Linked DNA regions of Homo sapiens: regions 2, 3, 4 and 5 are each linked to region 1. The links are contacts of gene promoters, found by promoter capture Hi-C in blood cells and fetal thymus (Javierre and others, 2016). All regions are on one chromosome and are shown on one strand. The core of a region is centred on a gene start or on the middle of the fragment in contact, and the rest is flanking DNA. Distances in the headings are between cores, read along the strand shown. Region 1 holds the start of FGL2 (fibrinogen like 2). Region 2 holds the start of YWHAG (tyrosine 3-monooxygenase/tryptophan 5-monooxygenase activation protein gamma). Region 3 overlaps PHTF2 (putative homeodomain transcription factor 2). Region 4 overlaps TMEM60 (transmembrane protein 60). Region 5 overlaps RSBN1L (round spermatid basic protein 1 like).

The links. The method cuts DNA at HindIII sites, captures the fragments that hold promoters and counts their contacts. A CHiCAGO score of 5 or more calls a contact.
Region 2: the fragment with the promoter of YWHAG here is called in contact with the fragment with the promoter of FGL2 in region 1 in 7 of 17 cell types (neutrophils, naive CD8 T cells, fetal thymus and 4 more); the score reaches 9.7 in neutrophils.
Region 3: a contact is called between a fragment that was not itself captured here and the fragment with the promoter of FGL2 in region 1, in 1 of 17 cell types (naive B cells). The highest score is 5.7, in naive B cells.
Region 4: a contact is called between a fragment that was not itself captured here and the fragment with the promoter of FGL2 in region 1, in 1 of 17 cell types (neutrophils). The highest score is 5.1, in neutrophils.
Region 5: a fragment that was not itself captured here is called in contact with the fragment with the promoter of FGL2 in region 1 in 1 of 17 cell types (neutrophils); the score reaches 5.5 in neutrophils.

Annotation. Positions count from the first base shown.
Region 1 is chr7:77,197,294-77,202,218 of GRCh38, reverse strand. FGL2 (fibrinogen like 2) reads left to right here and starts at 2,400. Exons shown (of 2, transcript NM_006682.3): 1 at 2,400-3,038. The coding sequence starts at 2,426. All of the region lies in intron 2 of CCDC146 (coiled-coil domain containing 146), which reads right to left. RefSeq lists a silencer at 2,700-2,809. The HindIII fragment of the contact is 5,002 bases long and covers 1-4,735 here.
Region 2 is chr7:76,356,781-76,361,705 of GRCh38, reverse strand. YWHAG (tyrosine 3-monooxygenase/tryptophan 5-monooxygenase activation protein gamma) reads left to right here and starts at 2,715. Exons shown (of 2, transcript NM_012479.4): 1 at 2,715-2,984. The coding sequence starts at 2,898. RefSeq lists silencers at 2,381-2,790, 3,111-3,310, 3,394-3,584 and an enhancer at 2,640-3,286. The HindIII fragment of the contact is 9,671 bases long and covers 1-4,925 here.
Region 3 is chr7:77,814,924-77,819,848 of GRCh38, reverse strand. The region is part of intron 1 of PHTF2 (putative homeodomain transcription factor 2); the gene reads right to left. Among named protein-coding and RNA genes, the nearest start is that of PHTF2, 19 kb to the right of the region's middle. The HindIII fragment of the contact is 2,341 bases long and covers 1,599-3,939 here.
Region 4 is chr7:77,790,533-77,795,457 of GRCh38, reverse strand. TMEM60 (transmembrane protein 60) reads left to right here. Exons shown (of 2, transcript NM_032936.4): 2 at 1,035-1,730. The coding sequence starts at 1,085. The coding sequence ends at 1,486. Among named protein-coding and RNA genes, the nearest start is that of TMEM60, 5.4 kb to the left of the region's middle. The HindIII fragment of the contact is 1,770 bases long and covers 1,560-3,329 here.
Region 5 is chr7:77,760,443-77,765,367 of GRCh38, reverse strand. All of the region lies in intron 3 of RSBN1L (round spermatid basic protein 1 like), which reads right to left. Among named protein-coding and RNA genes, the nearest start is that of TMEM60, 36 kb to the left of the region's middle. RefSeq lists an enhancer at 605-1,105. The HindIII fragment of the contact is 5,069 bases long and covers 1-4,888 here.

The DNA of each region.
Region 1 (4,925 bases), core at 1,151-3,650:
TGTGGCCCAAGTGCCTAGAATAGCGGTTTTGCATGCAGAGGGTGCAGAGTCAATTTATGATGAATAAATATATAGTATATCAATATATGTATGAGGAATAAATGAATGAAAGTGCCTGTGGCACGCATCTTATATATGCTCTAGCATAGTGCTGAGTATACAGAAGATCCTTAATAAATACTTTACTAACTAAATGCAGGGATTTATACTCTAGTCAGTCAAGGACATTTCACAATATCCTTAAGGACTAGGAACTAAATATCATTCCTATATATTTCTACTTTACAAAATGGTTTTTTTTTTTATCTATGTTGTCATCATGTCTCCTTTTTAAAATTATCTATTGTTTCATTTATTTCTTACCTCCCAACAGGGAAGTGTCACAGCTTGAAAATAGGTGAGAAGAAATGAGGTTAGGAGTTAGGGGATTAAATAGATATTTTTAGCTAAAAAGTTTTTGTCTAAAATTGGATATATTGAATGGAATGAAGAGAAAAACAATTTTTGAAAGAGCTATATGAAGATGGAAGAAAAAAAGTCATAAGGTGTGTAGAACATGTTTGACAAATTTATTTGGGAAGAATGTTACATTTATACACTGCATTTTTTTTTTTCTTAAGTGCTCTAAGTTTTTTTTTTCTTTTTTTGTGAGGGGTGGGGCTGGGGGATGGAGTTTCACTCTTATTGCCCAGGCTGGAGTGCAGTGGTACGATCTAGGCTCACTGCAACCTCCACCTCCTGGGTTCAAGTGATTCTCCTGCCTCAGCCTCCCGAGTAGCTGGGATTACAGGCACACGCCACCATACCTGGCTAATTTTTTTTTTTTTTTTTGTATTTTTAGTAGAGATGGGGTTTCACCATGTTGGCCAGGTTGGTCTCAAACTCCTGATCTCAGGTGATCCACATGCCTCGGCCTCCCAATGTGTTGGGATTACAGGCGTGAGCCACCACGCCCAGCCAAGTGCTCCAAGTTTGCATGACTATCATTCCTGTATGAGGGAAGAAATAGCTAAATTCCTCCGCTACAGCTACAGGAACAAAGGCTCATTAAAGCTGATGATCTGTTTACATGATCAGAGGTAGATCTAGGGTTGGAAGCCAGGTCTCCTGAGTATGCGAGAATAAATACAGTCATGGAAGAGTAAAGAGTCTGCCAACATTTTGAGAATGTGAATAGGATTTGGCTAAAATTAAGGGGATATACAGAAAAGTCATAGGAAATCAGGTTAAAGACATAAATATGAGATAGGCTACAGAGTGTTTTAAGTAATACAATAAAACATTTAGATTTTTGCCCATGTCAGTCATTTTGAAATTATTTTTAAAGCAAAAAAACCCTTTTTAAACAAGAAATCTTATGAGATGTCAATATGCAAAACAAATTAAAAGGAGGTGGTTTCTCTAACTGAAGCTGTTCCTCTTTCCTGCCTTCAGCCTCTGAAGAGAAAGTTAGAAAACTATTATCATTAATGCTACATGTTTTGAACAAGCTGATATACCAAGTGGCCCAGAGAGCAGGTAGAAGAACCAGCGTGGAGACAGAAAGCAAGAGGCCCGCCTGCCAGGGCTACCTGCAGAAAGAAAGGGCAAAGATGCTGTAGGCAAGAGAAGTTCAGGACAGACACTGGCATAGCTCAAAGATTCACATTTGAGCAGCTGTGGAAGATGACAGTACAATTACCAAAATGTCGAAGGGCAAAGGAGGCAGCTACTGGTTTTGATGAAAGACAATTATGTCCTTTTAAATGGGTCTTAGACATTTAGACATTAATATACACTATGCTACGGACAAAGGAATAGAAAGTAGCACTTTTTTCTCCACTAGTTTTCTTCTCTTTTTCAAGTAGATGAAGCAAAAGTCAACTGCAATAGTCAGAAAGCTGTACTTTGTTACACTTAGAAACTTCTAAAAGTGCTTAAGATTTCACCTGAAAGTCCAACATGAAGAAAATACAGGCTCCCCAATGCCCCATTCTAAGAAGGAAAAAGGACCATTTTCATTTTAGTAACGTTTCTGTTCTATAGACAGTTTGGATAACTAGCTCTTACTTTTTATCTTTAAAAACTGTTTTTCCAGTGAAGTTACGTATAATTATTTACTTCAAGCGTAAGTATACCAAATTACTTTAGAAATGCAAGACTTTTCTTATACTTCATAAAATACATTATGAAAGTGAATCTTGTTGGCTGTGTACATTTGACTATAATAATTTCAATGCATATTATTTCTATTGAGAGTAAGTTACAGTTTTTGGCAAACTGCGTTTGATGAGGGCTATCTCCTCTTCCTGTGCGTTTCTAAAACTTGTGATGCAAACGCTCCCACCCTTTCCTGGGAACACAGAAAGCCTGACTCAGGCAGCTGCCGCTATTAAAGCAGCTCCAGCCCTGCGCACTCCCTGCTGGGGTGAGCAGCACTGTAAAGATGAAGCTGGCTAACTGGTACTGGCTGAGCTCAGCTGTTCTTGCCACTTACGGTTTTTTGGTTGTGGCAAACAATGAAACAGAGGAAATTAAAGATGAAAGAGCAAAGGATGTCTGCCCAGTGAGACTAGAAAGCAGAGGGAAATGCGAAGAGGCAGGGGAGTGCCCCTACCAGGTAAGCCTGCCCCCCTTGACTATTCAGCTCCCGAAGCAATTCAGCAGGATCGAGGAGGTGTTCAAAGAAGTCCAAAACCTCAAGGAAATCGTAAATAGTCTAAAGAAATCTTGCCAAGACTGCAAGCTGCAGGCTGATGACAACGGAGACCCAGGCAGAAACGGACTGTTGTTACCCAGTACAGGAGCCCCGGGAGAGGTTGGTGATAACAGAGTTAGAGAATTAGAGAGTGAGGTTAACAAGCTGTCCTCTGAGCTAAAGAATGCCAAAGAGGAGATCAATGTACTTCATGGTCGCCTGGAGAAGCTGAATCTTGTAAATATGAACAACATAGAAAATTATGTTGACAGCAAAGTGGCAAATCTAACATTTGTTGTCAATAGTTTGGATGGCAAATGTTCAAAGTGTCCCAGCCAAGAACAAATACAGTCACGTCCAGGTATGTATAATAATGTTTTCTTATCATATGTTCATAAATGTTATACAGCTAGAGAGTATCTATAAACATTAACCTGAGTCAGTAAGTTAAATAGATGACAGATTAAGTCTTTTATTTATCAAGGTGCACAGGAAAAAATAAATATCTTCTCAAATATGACCACATAAATATGACCTAATTACAAAAATCATAGTTAGTTCTGTATCCACTGGAAGTCACTTTCAATTTTAAGATCTTATTTGTTAATGCCAGACCTACTTGCAAGCAGAAGTAGAGAGAATTTCTTGATGTTTTAGTGCATTTAACTTGTCTCTTCAATGAGGTGTTTGAAAACAATAAAGATAAGGCGATGTTCACAATTGTGCCTTGTTTGTTGGAAATCAGTTTTTCTTGTGATTGACTGACTGCCGCTTCTCATGGCTAAAGAGGTCTTTGAAAGATTTTAGCAAGTAATCTAGTTCTTAATCCCAAATATCTGGAGAAAATGGGAGAGTTTACAGATGGAATAAAAGCAGTTTCATATGTGTGCACAAATTTTTGCTTTGAGACCTAGTGGCACAAAAAATATTTTAAGGGGAGAGTTTTAGCATGCCACTAAGGGAAGGTATTCATATTTCTTTCTCTTTTACCTGAAGTTAGAATTCAAGCAGATAGAAGTAGAACCCATCCTCACCATCCAAATTACTTGAATTAACTTTAATAAATACATGTGAAATTCCACAGACTTAATCGCCTACTCCACCCACGAACTAACAGTGGTATTGACTCTCCAAACCTTGGCTTTTCACCTGAGTCACTGGGACCACTGTTGCTGACTGTCTCATACTTTGGAAAGCCATCTCCGCATTTGGACCTCTACTTACCATGAACGTGAGGTTGAAAGGACAGGGCGGAGATCACTTTCATTTAGAGACAGTATCTCAGGCATGCTCCATCCCCAGGGCATCTGCCAGTGAAGGAGGGAAGGGTCATATTTTCAAGGACCTCTATTGGTAATACTCCTGGCAGCCTGCATCTGAATGTACCTGGCACACTGCGAATCCAAGGTTCACCGCTTAGGTGACATCAGTGGGTATACATTAGATTAGATGCTGCATGGCAACTTGTCATGATATGAAGACTATTGTCTATTTTTCTCCTAAACATTTTGGGTGAAATAACTGAATATTCTGAGCTCTAAATATACAGGAATAGATTTTTATGCCTTAGGGTATCTCATATTAAACTTACCTTATTTGTCACACATTTTAATAAAAACTATCTGGGAGTAAATATCTGTCTGATTCATACAGAACTTTGTTAACTGATTATTATGCTTATCCTCAATATAGTCACCTGTTGTTTCTTTCTAGAAACCCAACATGTGAAATAGTGGCTAAATACTTTCCTAGATAATAAATACAGAATAAGAATATTGGTGTGTCATTGAAAAAGATACTTCTTTTTCACTTGAGCTTCTTTATATAGTTGTCAAGTGAAATGAATATGAATTTATGATCAATCCTATGCATTAGGATTTTAACACATCATTTGGAATATATGCTATAAAACCTTCTGACAGTAGAGGCTATCAGCCCCTTTAGGTGAAAGAAAATAGAAGCCTGTGCTTCCTCTGTATGCAAGGAATACAGTTCTAGGAGAGTTAGAATCATCTGATTTTTAGGACCAAGGGATGCAATGATTACGAGAACAAAGCTTTGCTGCCAGCCAGATCTGAGTTAGTGTCCTGGCTCTGCCACTTAAAGCTCAGGTGAAGGTGGGCAAGCCACTGATCTTTATGCCTAAATATCCTCACATGCAGACTGGCAGTAACGCCTACATCATAAGGTCAATGTTCAGATTCAGTGTGAAAATGTTACCCAGTCTGGCAGCATGCCTAGAACGTAT
Region 2 (4,925 bases), core at 1,466-3,965, 840 kb after region 1:
TGAGGTCAGGAGTTCGAGACCAGCCTAACATGGTGAAACACCGTCTCTACTAAAAATACAAAAATTAGCTGGGCGTGGTGGTGCGCGCCTGTAATCCCAGCTACTTAGAAGGCTGAGGCAGGAGAATCGCTTGAACCCGGGAGGCAGAGGTTGCAGTGAGCCAAGACTGCACCACTGCACTCCAGCCTGGGCTACAGAGCGAGACTCTGTCTCAAAAAAAAAAAAAGAAAAAGAAAAGAAAAAAAAAGAGAGAGTAGGAACCCTTATAACCAAATCCTTTCTCTCCAGTGCTCAGAGAACGAAAGTTTTCTGCTGTCTTTACAACACTGTCTGCTAACAGCTCCGATATGTTAACATGGCTTTACAGTTTAGATGAGAGGTCACTTCTTTTTTTTTTTTTTTTTTTGAGACGGAGTCTTTTTCTGTCTCCCAGGCTGGAGTGCACTGGCACAATCTCGGCTCACTGCAAGCTCCGGAGAGGTCACTTGGCTTCTTGGTTTCCATGCCCCTAACCTTGAAGGAGACGCAGCCCAAGGGCTCAATAGTAATGTCAAAGAACACGGTGGGATTGACCATGGCCAGTAGTAGAGTACTCCTGGCAGCAGCAGAGTCTGCAAAGCTCACTTTTTTTTTGTTTTGTTTTTTGATATGGAGTTTCGCTCTTGTTGCCCAGGCTGAAGTGCAATGAAACGATCTCGGCTCACTGCAACCTCCACCTCCCAGGTTCAAGCAATTCTCCTGCCTCAGCCTCCCAAGTAGCTGGGATTACAGGTGCCCACCACCACACCCAGCTAATTTTTGTATTTTTAGTTGAGATGGGGTTTTGCTACGTTAGCCAGGCTGGTCTCGAACTCCTGACCTCAGATGATCCACCCGCTTCGGCCTCCCAAAGTGTTGGGATTACAGGTGTGAGTCACCGTGCCAGGCCAAAGCTCACTTCTTTTTTTTTTTCGAGACGGAGTCTCGCTCTGTCACCCATGCTGGAGTGCAGTAGAGGGATCTCAGCTCACTGCAACCTCCGACTCCCGGGTTCAAGTGATTCTCCTGCCTCAGCCTCCCGAGTAGCTGGGATAACAGGTGGGCACCACCACGCCCAGCTAGTTCTTTTGTATTTTTTGTAGAGACAGGGTTTCACCATGTTGGCCAGGATGGTCTCGATCTCCTGACCTTGTCATCCGCCCGCCTCGGTCTCCCAAAGTGCTGGGATTACAGGTGTGAGTCACCGTGCCCAGCCTTTAAAAAACTTTTTATTTTATTATTTGTTTTTGAAACGGAGTCTTGCTCTGTCGCCAGACTGGAGTGCAGTGGCGCAATCTCAGCTCACTGCAACCTCAAAACTCACTCCTTACTGACTTCTAGCATACTGTACATATCTCACCTATTTTCTTGGGCAGGGATTTTTGTCTGTTTTGTTCACTACTGTACCTCGTGGCTTAGAATAGGGCTTGGAACACAGTAGCTTCTCATAGATAATTGTTGAATACATAAAGTAAATAAAATGTGCAGTCAAAACTATCAGGCCTGCAGGCATGGTGGCTCACATCTGTAATCCCAGCACCTTGGGAGGCCGAGGCGTGAGGATCGCTTGAGCCCAGGAGTTCGAGACCAGCATGGGCAACAAAGCTAGACCCCCGTCTCTACAAAAAAGCAAAACAAAGCAAAAAAACCCATGCTATCTGCAAGCTATGTGGAATAATATGAACGAGAATATATCAGCGTGACCTCAGTAGGTATGTATGTCTTAGGAGGGGAGAGAAGGGCTGGACAACCAAGCCCTAGACGCAGCCCAGTTAGATGTGGAGTAGGCTCCTGGTAGCTGAACTCAATCTTTAGCACTCCACCCTGGAGAGGAAGAAGGGGTTCTCCAGGGTCAGCCAGCAGACAGCTGCATCCTTTCTGGAAATCAACCACTGTGGCCAGCCGGTATTTGTCGTTCGTCCATGTTTTCACCTATTCAGGCCCAAGAGCCTCAAGGTGGGGTGGGGGGTTTAATGGAAGCTCGTAGGGGGTGGAGGTGACAGTCCCCAGGGTCTGGCCCCTTAATTCGGCCATCCCGCGGGCAGGCACCACACTGAGAGTCTGGATCTACAATGGACGCGCCTCCTGTCCTTCCCCCACCACGACCTGCTACGTGATCTCGGAAACAGGGTCTAGGACTGAGGCCCCTGCCCCCTCCTCTCGTAATTTCCCGGAGAATATGGGGCGGGGCGGTGAATCAGCACTCGCAGGGACTGATGCAGCCCTGATCCCCGCCAGGGGTCCCCAGCGGCCTCGGGATTCGAAGCACCCCCCCCCGTCCTCCTGCGCCTGCGCGCTATGTCCGCTGGGAGTTGTAGTCTTGACCGCCCCTTTGTCCTTGGTCTCCTCAGCGCCTCAGTGCACTGCAGGTTACACTACAACTCCCAGGGGCCCATGCGTCCGAGGGCTGGCGGGGCGGGAGGCTCAAGGGGGAGGCGTAAGGGGGCGACTGGAGAAGCTGGGGTGAGGGAACTGGGGAGTGAAGTGAAAAAAGGGGAGAGTGGGGGCGCAGTGGGAAAGGACGGGGTGCCCGGAAGACGCGCAGTGAGCCCAGCTGGGGAGCGGGGAGTTCTAGCCGCGGCCGGGCTCGGGCGGGGCATGGGCGGGGCTTGCGGACGGGTGGGCGGGGCCTGCCTTCGTCATGCGGCGTGGGCGGGGCCGCAGGGGGTTGTCCGTCAGTGGCACGCACAGCAGCCGCAGCCGCCTCGCGCCCGGTCCCGCGGTCGCAGCTCCAGCCGCCTCCTCCGCGCAGCCGCCGCCTCAGCTGCTCGCTCTGTGGGTCGGTCCTCTCCGGCACTTGGGCTCCAGTCGCGCCCTCCAAGCCCTTCAGGCCGCCCCAGTGTCCTCCTCCTTCTCCGGCCAGACCCAGCCCCGCGAAGATGGTGGACCGCGAGCAACTGGTGCAGAAAGCCCGGCTGGCCGAGCAGGCGGAGCGCTACGACGACATGGCCGCGGCCATGAAGAACGTGAGTGTCTCCTCCCCTCCCCCGCCGCTCCCTGCCCCTCCGAAGACGCGGTCCTTGGCGTGGAAGGCCCGGGGCTTCGTCGCCCTGTCGCGATGGCGGGTTGACCGCCCCGTCTCGCTCACTGAGGGGGGCTGGGGAGGGTCCCGAGAGGCGACGGGAACCCGGGCTGTGACGCGGCCTCTTTTCGGAGTCCCCGTGGCCCCGCGGCGCTGCCATTCAGGCCCGGCGCGGGCGCGGGCCGGGGCGAGGTCCCGCGGGGCTGGACTTGGGAGCGGGGTCTCCGGCCCCCGCGGCTCTAGGGGTGCAGGGGACCCGAGCGGGGAGGCGTGCGCATCCTTTGTGCCCCACTTCCCCCCTCCTCCTAGCCTGGGCGTGGGGGCGGGGGACCGCATGGATGCGGTTCCTCTTTCTCTCCCTGGTGTCTGGGCGGCGCCTTTCCCATTCACTCAGCAGGTCTCCCGGTTTTCCACCTCCCCAGCCCCCCCAGAATCTTCCCCACTGTCTGTCCCGACACATCCCTGAGAATCTTCCCAGAAACATTGTATAGGGTCTCTTGAAAACCTGAGCTCCGTGGTGCAAAATCGAAACCACCTTGCTCACGTTTTTCTTAACAAAAGGCTCTTCTTTCTCCATTCGCCCAAAGCAAGTCCTCCGGCTTTTAGGAAGGGAGAACGTTTGTCTCGCTAGCGTTTTCATTGATCATTCTCAACATGTCATCTCCATTTTATTCCCTAATGTTTTTGTATTGAAAAGGGTAGGTATTGCCTGTAAAATTAAAAGGTGGTGAATGTAGCTGACTGGTTCGATTCGTGTGACATATGCCGTTTCTTTTTTGAATACAGGCACGCGTCTGTTGAAATTCCTATAAGTTGGGGGAAAAAATATTCTGTCTGATCTGATAGTGCAAACAAAGCCGTGGTGAGAGGCAGTATCAAGTCATTCCAGAAGATTCTGCATTTGTCATATTGCAGAGAGCCTAGACTGGGTGGAGGCTGGGAGGAGTTATTTTAAAGGGGAAAAAGTCTTTTTAAAAATTTTTGGTTGTTAGATGCATCTGAGGCTTTTTTTTGTTTAAGCGAGTACATCTTCATGCTGATGAAAAGAGAATACCGATCGCCAGTTGTCGCATTTTGTCTGGGTTGCAGATTCATCCCTGTATTGCACCATTTTGTCAGTAACACCACATTTATCTAATGGGCTGTCAACCAGTTTGATATTAGAGGAGGGGGAAGTATTGAGCATTATGAAATGAAAGGTAGAAAATTAATCTAATGATTTCGGGCCCCCACTATCTTAATATTTAATTTCCTGCCTTATGTAACAAAGATTTTCAAATTCATCTCCATTGTGAAGTGGATGCTGGAGTGTACCTTGCGTGTTACATCTTTTAAATGAAGCATTATTGATATTACAGATCAATTCTTGAATAAATTTACTGGTTCTCAAAAGAGGACAATGCTGATACCTTTATATTTAAAGCAGCTATGTTAACAAAGAAAGGTTTTTGTCTTATTGAAGAGAACTGATTCTGAAATTCGGAATACTGCTGTGGCCACAGTTGCTGTCTTACAAGGTTTTAATGCTTAAATGATGTAAGTTGCACTTCTAATAGGTATCAGTATTGGAAATATCTTCAGTTCGTGTTATTTAGACTCTTATAATTTTTCCATATTTCTTTTCCATATTTCTAGTTCCACAGGAAAGCGAGTGACCTCGCACCTATATCCATAGCAACCAAGTGATGTCACACACAATGACACAGAGGCTGCAATGCACCTAAGGGCTGGTAGGGAGTGTGCAAATGGCATTTATCCAAGGTAATGCAGAAATTAGCCGATAAGCCAGGTGGAATCGAGCACTTCATATTCCACTAGATGAGAATTAGTCCAAAAAATAAGGATATCATTTACCCTTAGACATGCAAATCTGTGACCTCTAGCT
Region 3 (4,925 bases), core at 1,520-4,019, 620 kb before region 1:
CACAGCTGAATTTTACTGAACCTTTAGGGAAGAATTAATATCAATTTTTCTCAAATTATTCCAAAAAATTGAAGCAGACTGATTCTTCCTAACTCATTCTATGAGGCCTGGATAACCCTGAAACCAAAACTAGACAAGAAGACAACAAAAAGAAGAAAACTGCAGGCTAATATATTCGATGCACATACACATAAAAATTCTCAACAAAATATTAGCAAGCCAAATCTAACAACACATCAAAAAGATAATACATCATGATTCAGGGGAATTTATCTGAGGAACGCAAGGACGGTTCAACAAATACAAATCAATAAACATCATACATCACACCAATAGAATAAAAGACAAAAACCATATGGTCATCTTGATAGATACAGAAAAAGCATTTGATAAAAGTCAACATTCTTTCATGATTAAAACCTCTCAAATTAGGGATAGAAGGAAAATATCTCAACATAATAAAGGCCATATATGGCAAAGCCAAAGCTAACATCATACTGACTAGGAAAAAGCCAAAAGTGTTTCCTCTGACTACTAGAACAAGACAAGGATGCCTACTTTCACAACTCTTATTCAATATACTACTGAAAGTCCTAGTTGGAGCAATTAGTCAAGAGAAAGAAATAATAGGCAACCAAGTTGAAAAGGAGGAAGTCAAAATGTCTATTTGCAGATGACACAATCTTATATATAGAAAAACTTAAAGACTATACCAAAAACTCTTAGAACTGATAGATGAAATCAGTATAATTGCAAGATACAGTATCAATATTCACAAATCAGTAGCATTTCTAAACACAAACAATCAACTAGCTGAAAATGAAATAAAAAAGGCAATCTTATTTACTACAGCAACAACAAAAGAATACCTAGGAATAAATTTAAACAAGGAGGTGAAAGACCTCTATAGGAAAACTATAAAATGCTGATTAAAGAAACTGAAGAGGATACAAACAAATGAAAGACATCTCATGCATATGGATCAGAAGAATATTATTAAAGTGACCCCACAACCCAAAGAAATCTACAGAGTCAATGCACATGTCAAAATAACAATTACTTTCTTCACAGAAACAGAAAAAACAATCCCAAAATACATATGGAACTACAAAAGCCTCTGAATAGCTGAAGCAATCCTGAGCACAAAGAGGAGGCATCACACCACCAGACTTTCAAATATACTACAAAGCCGTAGTAACCAAAACAGCATAGTACTGGCATAAAAACAGACACATAGATCAGTGGAACAGAATAGAGAACCCAGAAATTAATCAATCCATGTATCTACAGTTAACTGATTTTTGACAAAGGTGTCAGGAACACTCATTGAGGAAAGGATAGCCTCTTCAATAAATACTTCTGGGAAAACTGGATATGCAGAAGAATGAAACTAGATGCCCATCTCTCATCCTATACAAAAATCAACCCCAAAATGAATCAAAGACCTAAATGTAAAACCCAGAACTACAAAACTATTAAAAGAAAACAGCAGAAATGCTTCAGGGCATTGGTTTCTGGGAAAAGATTTTATGAATAAGTCCTCAAAAACATAGGCAACAAAAGCAAAAATAAATGAGATTATATAAAAACAAAAAGCTTTTGCATAGCAAAGGAAACAATCAACAGAGTAAAAAGATAACCTATAGACTAGGAGAAAATATTTGCAAACTATTCATGGGACAGGGAATTAATAGCCAGAATATACAAGGAACTCAAACTGTTGTTTTTTTTTTTTTTTGAGACGGAGTTTTGCTCTCATTGCCCAGACTAGAGTACAGTAGTGCAATCTCGGCTCACTGCAACTTCCACCTTCCAGTTTGAAGAGATTCTCCTGCCTCAGCCTCCCAAGTAGCTGGGATTACAGGCGCCCGCCACCATGCCCGGCTAATTTTTTTGTATTTTTAGTAGAGATGGGGGTTCACCATGTTGGTCAGGCTGGTCTCGACCTGCTGACTTCGTGATCCACCCACCTTGGCCTCCCAAAGTGCTGGGATTACAGGCATGAGCCACCGCACCCGGCCCGGAACTCAAACTTTTTAACATCAAAAAACAAACAATCCAATTTAAAGATGGGCAAAAAATCTAAAGACATTTCTCAAAAGAAGACATACATGTAGCGAATAAACATATTTAAAAATGCCCAACATCACTAATTGATATGGTTTGGCTCTGTGTTCCCACCCAAATCTCATCTTAAATTGTAGTTTCCACAATCCCCGTGTGTCATGGGAAGGACCTGGTGGGAGGTAACTGAATCATTGGGGTGGTTTCCCTCATGCTATTCTTGTGATAGTAAGTTCTCACAAGATCTGATGGTTTCATAAAGGGCTTCACCCTTTGCTTGGTTCTCATTCTTCTCTCTCCTGCTGCCATGTGAAGAAGGATGTGTTTGCTTCCCCTTCCATCATGATTTTAAGTTTCCTGATGCCTCCCCAGCCATGCTCAACTGTGAGTCAATTAAACCTCTTTCCTTTATAAATTACCCAGGCTCAGGTATGTCTTTATTAGCAGCGTGAGAACGAACTAATACACTAATCATCAGGGAAATGCAAATCAAAACCATAATGAGATACCATCTCATCAACTTAAAATGGCTACTGTCAAAAAAACAAGAAAATAACAAATGCTGATGAGAATGCAGAGAAAAAGGAACTCTTACACATTTGGTAGGAATGTAAACTAGTACAGCTACTATGGAGAAGAGCATGGAGATTCCTCAAAAAACTACTAATAGAACTACCATATGATCCAGCAATCCCACCACTGGGAATTTTATCCAAAGGAAAGAAAATCAGTATATTGATGAGACATCTGTACCCCATGTTTATTGCAGCACTATTCACAATAGTCAAGATATGGAATCAACCTACATGCCCAACAACAGATGAATGGATAAAGAAAATGGGGTCTACAGACAGTGGAATACTGTTTTGCCATAAAAAGAATCAAATCCTGTCATTCGCAGCAACATGGATGGAACTGGAGGACATCATGTTAAGCGAAAAAAGCCAGGAACAGAAAGTTAAACCCTGCATGTTCTCACTCATAAGTAGAAGCTAAAAAGCTGATCTCATAGAAGTAAAAAGTAGAATGGAGGATACCAGAGACTGGGAGGGGCATAAGGAAGAGAGAGATCAGAAGAGATTTGTGAAAGGTTACAAAATCACAGTTAGATAGGAAGAATAAGTTCTAGTGTTCTATACCACTGTTGGATGACTATAGTTAACAATAATATATAGTTGCAAATAGCTACAAGAAATAATGTTTGAAATAATGTATACGTCAATTACTCTGATCTGATCACTATACATTACATGTACTGAAACATCATTATGTACCCCTCAAATATGTACATTATGTGTCAATTAATAAAAGTAGTTTTTTAAAATAATGTAATTGAATTGAGCAAAATGAAACATGTATCTGTCCTGGACCCATGTACTATAAACAGGCAAACTATTAAAAGTTATTTCATGTCAGGCATGGTGGCTCACTCTTGAAATCCCAGCACTTTGGGAGGCCGAGGCAGGCAGATCACTTGAGGTCAGGAGTTTGAGACCAGCCTGGCCAACATGGTGAAACCCCATCTCTACTAAAAATACAAAAATTAGCCAGGCATTGTGGTACGCACCTGTAATCCCAGCTACTTGAGAGACTGAGGCACGAGAATCACTTGAACCTAGGAGGCAGAGATTGCAGCCAGCCAAGATTGCACCATTGCATTTCAGCCTGGGCGACAGATCATGACTCTTGTCTCAAAGAAAAAAAAAAAGTTATTCCAATATATAAAAAGAATAACCAAATTTCCAAGAGAATACAAAAAGCCAGACTAAACACAAGCATCTAACTTTACTACCTTACAATATCTAACTGAAATGACAGCAAACGCATACATACATGAGAACAGAGAGAACGGAAAAAAACAACAAAAATGAAGCTTGAAAGAAGATATGTGACTTGTAACTGACCTAGCAGATCCGAGACAGCAGACAGCAATAGTAGAGAAAGGAGAATATTAACCCAATTTATGCAATAAAACAAAGTTTCAGGGATTCATGGTTTAAGCATCCCCTGGAAACGGGAATAAAGTTAGTCCCATCTTTAGGCAGACTAGTTGAAAGCTGTTAAAATAAAAGATCCATTTTCTCTCACACCATGCCAATGAGTGACTATTTCTCTATGACCCTGCAGATGACTGGAAGTCAAACATGTATCATTATGAATGGTAAATAAAATATCAATTGAAAGAGCTGAACCTGTTTGTCCCTGGGAAACAGAAACTGTGGAAAAGGGGCTCTATGGCCGCTATTTTCCTAAATTTTGTATAACTATCTCTGAAAACATCTATCTGCAGAACTTTGATAAAAACTACAAATTGAAACCAGTTTTAAATTTCAATTTCCAAATAGTTATAGCTTCAGTAAACTGGAATTCTTACCATCATAAATATGATGGAATTATGCAATATATTCCAACATTTCCATTTAACATATTGGACAGCCACTTTCATAGATTTCGTATGCAAATCTGCCTGCTTGCTAAAATCAATACTCCTGGTACTTTTGCAGTCATTTACAGATATGCACAAAGCAGAGAAAAATCTGAGGTTCCCAACACGCATGTTCCCAGCAAAGGCTGAACAAGATGACACTATCTTCTTAAATAAGACAGCTATTATACCATAAACAAGGGTCCTTTTTGTGGTGTAGTGTCCTGTTTTTGGCTTTTTTTTTCTTTTTGTTGGGATTTTGCTGTTTTATTTTATTTTATTTTTGAGACAGAGTGTAGCTGTTGCCCAGGCTGGACTGCAGGGGCGTGATATCAGCTCACTGCATCCTCCACCTCCCGGATTCAAATGATCATCCTGTCTCAGCCTCCTGAGCAGCTGCAATGACAGGTGCACGCCACCAAGTCTGGCTAATTTT
Region 4 (4,925 bases), core at 1,195-3,694, 590 kb before region 1:
CAGCCTCAACTTCCCGGGTTCAGGTGATTCTCCCACTTCAGCCTCGCGAGTAGCAGGGAATACAGGCACGTGCTACTGCACCTAAATTTTTTGTATTTTTAGTAGAGACGGGGTTTCGCCATGTTGCCCAGACTAGTCTTGAACTCCTGGGCTCAAGAGATGCACCTGCCTTAGAGTCCCAAAGTGTTGGGACTGTGGGTGTGAGCCACTGCACCCAGCCACTAAAATATTAATTCTACTTTATATTCTTGTGATTTTTATTAACCATTCCCTCCTTTTATTGATGGATTGACTGATTGAGACAGCATCTCACTCTTTTGCCCAGGCTGGAGTGTAGTGGCATGATCTCACGGGGCACTCACTGCGGCCTCGACCTCCTGGACTCAAGCAATCCTCCCACTTTAGCCTCTCAGTAGCTGCGACTACAAGGTGCATACCACCACGCCTTGCCAATTTTTTTATTTTTTGTAGAGGCAGGGTTTCACTCTTGCCCTGGCTGGTCTGGAGCTCTTGGGCTCAAATGATATGCCTGCCTTCTCCTCCCCAAATACTGGGATTACTGGCATGAGCCACGCACCCTTCCCATTCCCTTCTTTTAAAACTCTCTCTCTTCTCAGCTTGATACCCACCTTTCACTTTTTCACTACTTTGAATGCTTTTTTCTTTGTACCCCTTGAAATTGAATTAAAAATTAGATTTGCAAATGTATAGGAAGATTAAGAACATCTTTGAGGTGCAGGAATAAAGTTGTAAGTGCCTGGACTCGAGTGATAGCACTGAAAAGGAATCACCTGACATTTTGAATAGAGCTTATACAGTAGATATAATAAAAATTGTATTTTGTCATGGGCTGTAAGGAATGGTGGATATAATGTCAATGATCACTAAGTTTTAGAGGATTTGAAAGGAAGAATAGTAGAATGTTTTCAAAATTAGGAAGTCAGTTGGGAAAGAACCAGTTTTGTTCATTAGGAATGGAAGTGATACTTTTTTTCTGGTATCAAAACAATCTTGACTTTTTCTCCTTCTCTTAGGGTATATTTCCTTTTTTCCGATCCTGCAACAGCCTCTTTAAACTGTTTAAATGAGAATGTCCTTGGCTCAGAGAGTACTACTCACCTGGCTTTTCACACTACTCTTCTTGATCATGTTGGTGTTGAAACTGGATGAGAAAGCACCTTGGAACTGGTTCCTCATATTCATTCCAGTCTGGATATTTGATACTATCCTTCTTGTCCTGCTGATTGTGAAAATGGCTGGGCGGTGTAAGTCTGGCTTTGACCCTCGACATGGATCACACAATATTAAAAAAAAAGCCTGGTACCTCATTGCAATGTTACTTAAATTAGCCTTCTGCCTCGCACTCTGTGCTAAACTGGAACAGTTTACTACCATGAATCTATCCTATGTCTTCATTCCTTTATGGGCCTTGCTGGCTGGGGCTTTAACAGAACTCGGATATAATGTCTTTTTTGTGAGAGACTGACTTCTAAGTACATCATCTCCTTTCTATTGCTGTTCAACAAGTTACCATTAAAGTGTTCTGAATCTGTCAAGCTTCAAGAATACCAGAGAACTGAGGGAAAATACCAAATGTAGTTTTATACTACTTCCATAAAACAGGATTGGTGAATCACGGACTTCTAGTCAACCTACAGCTTAATTATTCAGCATTTGAGTTATTGAGATCCTTATTATCTCTATGTAAATAAAGTTTGTTTTGGACCTCATTTTTCTACATGACTCTTGAATAATCTGTTGTATGTGGTCAATATCTAAAGTAACTAAATATAAAACCTTTAACCTACATGTTTGGGCCAGGCGAGGTGGCTCACACCTGTTATCCCAGCACTTTGGGAGGCTGAGGCGGGTGGATCACTTGAGGTCAGGAGTTCAGGACCAGCCTGGCCAACATGGTGAAACCCTGTCTCTACTAAAAGTACAAAAATTAGCCAGGCATGGTAGCGGGCGCCTGTAATCCCAGCTACTTGAGAGGCTGAGACAGGAGAATCACTTGAACCCGGGAGGTGGAGGTTGCAGTGAGCCAAAATCACACCACTGCACTCCAGCCTGGGCAATAGGACTAGACTCCGTCTCAAAAACAAAACAAAACCTACATTTTTTAATAGAAGTTTAATATACCATGGCTGTATTATGACCAAAGTAAATGGCCATTTGTGTTTCTAAATTATGAAGGAAAAAAAACCTGAAACAGGGATGCCACTTCGTATTTACATTTAGAAAGAATCTGAGTTTGACAGATTTTTATCTAGGCTAAATTCACTATTACCTCTACCTTCTGGTTGGGACAAATAATTTAGAGGTGGCATGTTAAAACAGAGCAGAAAAGCCAGGCGCACTGGCTCACGCCTGTAATCCCAGCACTTTGGGAGGCCAAGGCGGGCAGATCACAAGGTCAAAAGATCAAGACCATCCTGGCCAACATGGTGAAACCCCATCTCTACTAAAAATACAAGAATTAGCTGGGTATGGTGGTGGGCGCCTGTAGTCCCAGCTACTCAGGAGGCTGAGGCAGGAGAATCGCTTGAACCCCAGAGGCGGAGGTTGCAATGAGCTGAGATCACACCACTGCACCCCAGCCTGGCAAAAGAGTGAGACTCCATCTCAAAAAAAAAAAAAACAAAAACAAAAACAAACAGCAGAAGCCTGCCACTTCCTAAAGTTAGGGAGACCCTATAATCCTGATTCTGTCAGGACAGGCCCAGTTTATATACCTATTGTCCTGGGGTCTCAAGGAATTAGTGCCCCCTCACAATTAGAAGTGTCTTGAATTGAGAAAGCATATTATCACCCTCCCAAGGTACTAATCAATTCCAATGAAGCAGAGGTGACAGTACTTATAAAAATTCCAAAGAGGTTGAAGTGTCTTATAACCCTGAAGCACGATGATTGTTCTTACCCTATGCAACCCTCACTTTTAGCTTTAAGAGAAACCTCAAGTGATTTTTTCTCCGTTTTAAAAAAATCAAACAAAAAAGTGATTTCTGGCTACTGATACAGAAGGTCTAGTTCTCCCTTGTAATGACAGATAACATAAGTTTCACAATACAACAGATTAATACAGCTTAACTCATTAGGCATTTGAAACTAGAGAGCTAGGCTAAATAAATAAAAACTAATCAACTGCAAAGTTTTCATCTTATAATTGACAATAATTAGGATTTTCAGTATGTAAAAATAGGATTGAGAACAGTTAGTACTGGGAACGGAATGTTCCAGGCTTGATCAGATACCTCTAACTCAATTGAGAGATGCATACTTTGGTTTATGGGATCTATCGTTAAATAAATTCAAAGTAGAAGAAAGCTTACATCTCTCTAAGAAACCAGCCAAGAGGATTTTGGAGTACAGGGAAAAGGAAAAGAAGGGATGGCACCACAGCAAACAATCAGCTAGGCCAGGAGTCAGCAAAATTTCTCTGTAAAGGGCTTCTCAGTAAATATTTAGGCTTTTAGGTGATGTGGTTTCTTTTGCAACTACTGAACTCAGTCCTTATGGCAGAGAAAGCAGCCACAGACCATGGCTATATCCCAATAAAACCTTATTTATGGACATGAAATTTAAATTTCAAATGATTTTCACATCACAAAATATTTTTACTTTTGTTTCAACCATTTAATGGCATAAAAACCATTCTTGCCTCACACACAATAGAAAAACTGGTGGTAGGTTAGATATGGCCTACAGGAGGTAATTTGCTGACCCCTGTGCTAGGCAATAAAAGCATAATGGAATTCTGTATGAGACGTTAAGAGGAAAGGTAGAACAGGTCTCTTGCTCCCCCAAACAGTTCTACGAGGAAGGAAGAGAGAGATTAAGTAAGAATTGTATGTAAACTGCAACACAATAACCGACCTGTTTACACAAGCGTCAATGAATTTTAACAGCATCTGAAGGATTCCCAGAAAGTAGAACTGCCGCACTAAATAAACACTTGAAGCAGCACAATAAATTATCATGGATATGTGCAATACACACATCAGTGTGTTACATTAAAACATTACGTAATGAAAGACATTAAAGATAGAAATCATGCTTACAGGTAGAAAAATCAAAACAAATGGACTAATATGTAAACAATTAGTATTGTACAAAAATACCTTCCTAGGTTTTAGTTATAGGATTCTTCCTTTGTATTACAGAGATATTTACCAATGACGTTTTTTAAGATTAAACACACAATGCCTCATGAAAGAAACTTAAACATCAGAGGTTCTTACCAAAGCCGATTTTTTCTAGGTTAGCATGGATGTAACTCACTCTGGTTTGGGCAAAAGATTTGTCATCAACAATCTGAGTAAAAGCAACCTGTGCACAAAATAACTTTTTATAAGACTTGAAACTATGACAAGGGGCCGAGTGCAGTGGCTCACGCCTGTGGTCCCAGCTACATGGAAGGCTGAGGTGGGAGGATCGCTTGAACCCAGGAATTCAAGATTACAGTAAGCTATGATCATGCCACTGCACTCCAGCATGGGTGACAAAGTGAGACTCTGTCTCAAAAAAAAAAAAAAAAAAATGGCTGAGTGCGGTGGCCCACACCCATACCTGTAATCCCAGCACTTTGGGAGGCCAAGGCGGGTGGATCATCTGAGATCAGGAGTTCGAGACTAGCCTGGCCAACAAGGTAAAACCCTGTCTCTACTAAAAATAGAAAAAATTAGCCGGGTGTGGTGGCAGGCACCTGTAGTACCAGCTCAGGAGGCTGAGGCAGGAGAATCACTTGAACCTGGGAAGCAGCGGTTGCAGTGAGCCGAGATCACACCATGGCACTCCAGCCTGGACAACAAGAGTGAAACTCCCTCTCAAAAAATAAAATAATAATTTAAAAAAACATTCAAATGATCCAAAACTTAGTAACATTTCATGAACATAGGGACCAGATATGGTAGCCTCAACCAAAC
Region 5 (4,925 bases), core at 1,105-3,604, 560 kb before region 1:
ATATTATATCATAATGAGGCAAGCAAAACAAAACTTTACTAACAGTAACAGATAAGGCATTTTAAAAATAAAACTTGCACTAAATCAAGCTATTTTACTTTCTCTAACTATTCCTACACACTGCTTATGAAAACAGAGTTAAGACAAATAAGCATTAATTCTAGACAACTAACATCTCCTTAGAACAGAGGAACTCATTATCTGAGTATTCAAAAGTTGGTGTACCTGCATTTTTCTAAAGTGAAATGAAGTTCATATCTTTTCATCAACATTTTCAAAATTAGACCCTCTGAAAACATTTAACCATCAACAGTGGCTTATATGACTAAAAGGCCACCAGGGATGCTCTTCTTTTTTGATCTTACCATATTAACTAGAAACCAGTTTATATACCTATTATTAACTCTCATGAGAAACTACTAGAAATTAAGAATCACAGCCGGGCGCAGTGGCTCACACCTGTAATCCCAGCACTTTGGGAGGCCAAGGCAGGCGGATCATGAGGTCAGGAGATCAAGACCATCCTGGCCAACATGGTGAAACCCCGTCTCTACTAATAATACAAAAAAATCAGCCGAGTGTGGTGGCCGGCGCGCGCCTGTAGTCCCAGCTACTTGGGAGGCTGAGGCAGGAGAATGGCGTGAACCTGGGTGGCGGAGCTTGCAATGAGCCGAGATTGTGCCACTGCACTCCAGCCTGGGCGACAGAGCGAGACTATGTCTCAAAAAAAAAAAAAGAAAGAAAGAAATTAAGAATCAGGAATCCTAAAATCCAAATCTGCCTTTGCTATCTACCAGTTACATGACCTTCAGAAATCATTTGCGTTCCTTGAGCTGTGGTTTCCTTAACTGGAATGTTTTACAGCAGATTGCTGAAGAAAATTTGATAATGATATAAACTCACCTGCCATAATGCTAGCAAATGGGTGGCATTCAAAGAGCCAAAACAAAGCCATGTGCACCTCAAGATTGATTGGTAACTACATTTCTTGCCAGCATATTTAAATCCTGACAAAGAAACCTATGTGTTTTCATATACTAACACTAGTAAACAAGCTGAGTCTGTCTTCAAGCGAAACAACTCGTTTTGATAACCAAATTATAAGCAAAACTGTAATTGTCTCTTTCTCTGGATTAGCCTTTGTGGACAACAAATTTAGGAGACCAATTTGTCCCAGTTTGCCCAGGACTATCAGTCTTAAAACTGAAAGTCTTGTATTTCAGGCAAACATGGATGGTCAACTTTTATCACATCACAGACACAGATTATAAAAGATAGTCACATCAAAAGTTGAATCCTTACAATCATAGCTGGTAAGAGTATCACAACGTAACAAAGTAAACCCCAACCCACATGTTTTCATACAAAATCATTTAAGGAAGAGAATCTCATTTGTTATTATAATCAGCAAAGCAGTTTAATAATGACATTAATTCTTTAATAAATTCACCAGATTTCTAAGCCTAAATTTTCCTAAACTGTTACAAATTGACTTCTCAGAACCACAAACCATTCCTACAAGTTAGAAAATTAAGGGCCTGTAAGCCCAGCACTTTGAGAAGTGGGAGGATATCTCCAGCCTGGCAGGTCCAGGCTGCAGTGAGCTGTCATCAGGCCACTGCACTCCAGCCTGGGCAACAGAGCGAGATCCTGTCTCAAAAAAACAAACAAATATAAGAACAGCTGGGGCTTATGCCCCCATTGTATGCTCATTGTCTCATCTTTTTCCTGTCGCCTAAAAATTCCTATCATCTCCAATATCAAGAGAGCTAACAGTTAAAGCCTAACTCTACAACAGTCTTCAGGCTCTAGATGCATTAATAGCAGCACAGTAAGAAATTCAGTCTATGCACCTCTGTAATGCAGTCTATCAAAGAAGCTAAGGGTATCAATCTCAACTCTAGCACATTTACCAGAATAGAACACATCAAGTCTGTTAAGTGATTCTGAGATTCTGAGTTTTGTGTCTGCAAATGACCATAAGGGGTTTTGAGAGACGATAACCATTTAGAAAGTGAAATCAAACAACTGATATTGTAAAACACAAATTTTCCAAGTGCTTTGAAATATATCTAAAAAGTCAAATTAGAGTTAGGGGTGGTGACACGAAACTGTAATCCCAGCTACCCAGAAGGCAGAGGCAAGAGGATCACTTGAGCCCAGGAGTTCAAGATCTGCCTGAGCAACACAGCGAGACCAAAAAAAAAAAAAAAAAAAAGTCAAATTATATATATTTCCACCTCATACAAATAAGTACATTTTCTGTGCATAAATTTCCTTATCTTGTTTAAATTAGATACCTACAACATTTAGTTCTAACAAAGCCATAATCAAGTCCTTGCCACTGAGTTGGTTCATTCTATGACATCACAGTACCAACAATGATCACCTAAATAATTTGGGCAGTTTATCTTGTGCGGAGGGGATGACTGTTAGGAAAGAATTTTCATTAAGTGAATTCTTCTAAAATACGAAGCACAACTAAACTTTCAATTTATCTAGTAGTTTTAAAAAGTCATATTATACATGAAATAAAACCAAAAAACTATAACATTATTAAATTATAGAGAGTAGGAGATAATATAATAATCAGAAAACCGGAACCAATTGTTAACACAGTCCTTGTAGAGTAAAATTTATGTATTTAAATGTGAGTAAAAACATGTATCATTGAGTAACAGGAAAAAATTGGGTAAAACTTGGGTGGTAATATTACAGACACATCATATGTTGTGTCATGACTCAAGAACTTTATTTACTAATTTTGCTTTGACCAGATGTTGCTATTTCAGGTTAGAATAATTATTTCATTGACTGAAGAAGTATTACTGACCTAGCCATCTCATTTCTTTCAAATTATACATTTACATTAATTTCCAAGTTTACAAATAATGCTTTTTATTTCAAAATAAAACAAAACACGTCTAAATTAGTATAGACCTAAACATTAAAATGTTTAACATAATAGACTGAATAAATCAAAAACCGATTTTTCCCCCATTCTCTGTCTAGTTTGGGCACTACCTAAGAAGAGGCTTTATCTTTTGCTGATTATTTTTAAGTATGGTCCTATTAAAATTCATAACTATTTCAAAGGATTTTTTAGAGACCCTGAATTTTTAAAGTAAAGTAATACAGACTCTACTCCGATTATATTGCTAAATATCTTAATTGAATTTTTAGTTAGTTCTTCCCACCTCATGCCAAAATACATATAAAACATATAGATATGTAAAATTCACTTTCACACATAACTTATTATAACAAAAGTATAAGTCTCTCCCTTGTAACCAGAATGTACAGGTAGATGCCATTTGCCCACTAATAAAACCAAAAATAAATCCTATTAGGAAATTGGCCTTTATAAAAACTGCTTAGCTCTCACATGTTTAAAACAAAACGGCAATGATCTTCCAAAACCTTTATTCTCCAACAGTAAAGATAAAATGATGATCACCCACCTGAATAAACATATTTAAACTTAGACCAAATTTAAAAAATTAAATTGAAGTCATCAAAATCTTAATCTGTAAAAGTATTAAATTTTAAAATATATTGTAATATAACCTTTAACTATATATCATTTCATACAAATTTCTAGTTTAATAACACAATATTTCAAATCCATCAGTTGTAACCATTAACTTAAATGTTATAAACATGGCAAGTTACACACAACAATGTTTCCAATTTAAAAAGTATATACTGCTTGATAAAATACATGATGGTACTTAAGTTGTTAAAATAAAATGTAAGAATAAAATCCACACGCTTTTCACAAAAATGTAAATACTTCTTGATTTTGGTGACACCTCTTTTGTTGCAAAACTATATACCAAATATGCAGAATTCACCTATTACAAAAAAATCAAGCCTCATTTCTCTAAAAATCACCTATCCAGACTATGCCAGACTGCGAAGAACTCAAGGGCGGTGAGGTGGAAGAGGTAACAGATAAGGATTAAAAGAATCTCTAAATAATCACAGTAAATGTCACAAAGACCATGGCTCATAAAAGTTCTTCTTCTTACCTATCAGTTCCTATATTAGGCACAATCGTAACTACTCTCTAAAATCATAAAGGACAAGAAACCACATATTTAGAAGGGGAAGGAAGGAAAAAGGGTAAGCACAGCTGCAGCTGCCCTAAGGCATCAGTATTGTATCATAATGACAAACCAATACTGAAAATAAAGTGACATTATGTTGCATATGTTCAGCAATGAAGATATTTTTATAAAATCTTAATACTTAAAACTACGTTTCCATTAACTAAAAAAATAGCCTATCTGGAAAACCTCACATCCTGATGACGCTCAATGTGAGCTTACTATATTTGCTTTTATTCACTCCAGTAAACATTAATCAAACCAGTTTTCTGGTGTAGTTAAAAAATTAACCTGAAAAAAAGTCAAAACATGTCACTGCTTTAAAATATACGCCAGGCGTCACGCCTGTAATCCCAGCATTTTGGGAGGCCAAGGCGGGAGGATCATTTGAGATCAAGAGTTTGATACCAGCCTGGCCAACATGACAAAACCCCGTCTCTACTAAAAATACAAAAATTAGCCAGGCATGGTGGCAGGTGCCTGTAATCCCAGCTACTCAGGAGGCTGAGTGAGGCACGAGAATGCTTGAACCCAGGAGGCGGAGGTTGCAGCCAGCGAGATCGCACCACTGCACTCCAGCCTGGGTGATAAAAGTGAAACTCAGTCTCAAAAAATAAGTTAACTAAATAAAAAATAATAATAGAATATACTTGCTTTCTAAAAAAAGAAATGCACTGAATTACAAAGATTATACATATAGTTCCTCTTGATTTAGGTATATAGATGTGTCAGAACACAATAAAAGACAGGCATGATAATTATGTATTTGTGGAAAAGCTTATATTTAAATAGTGGCCTTCAGAAGAAATATAACAT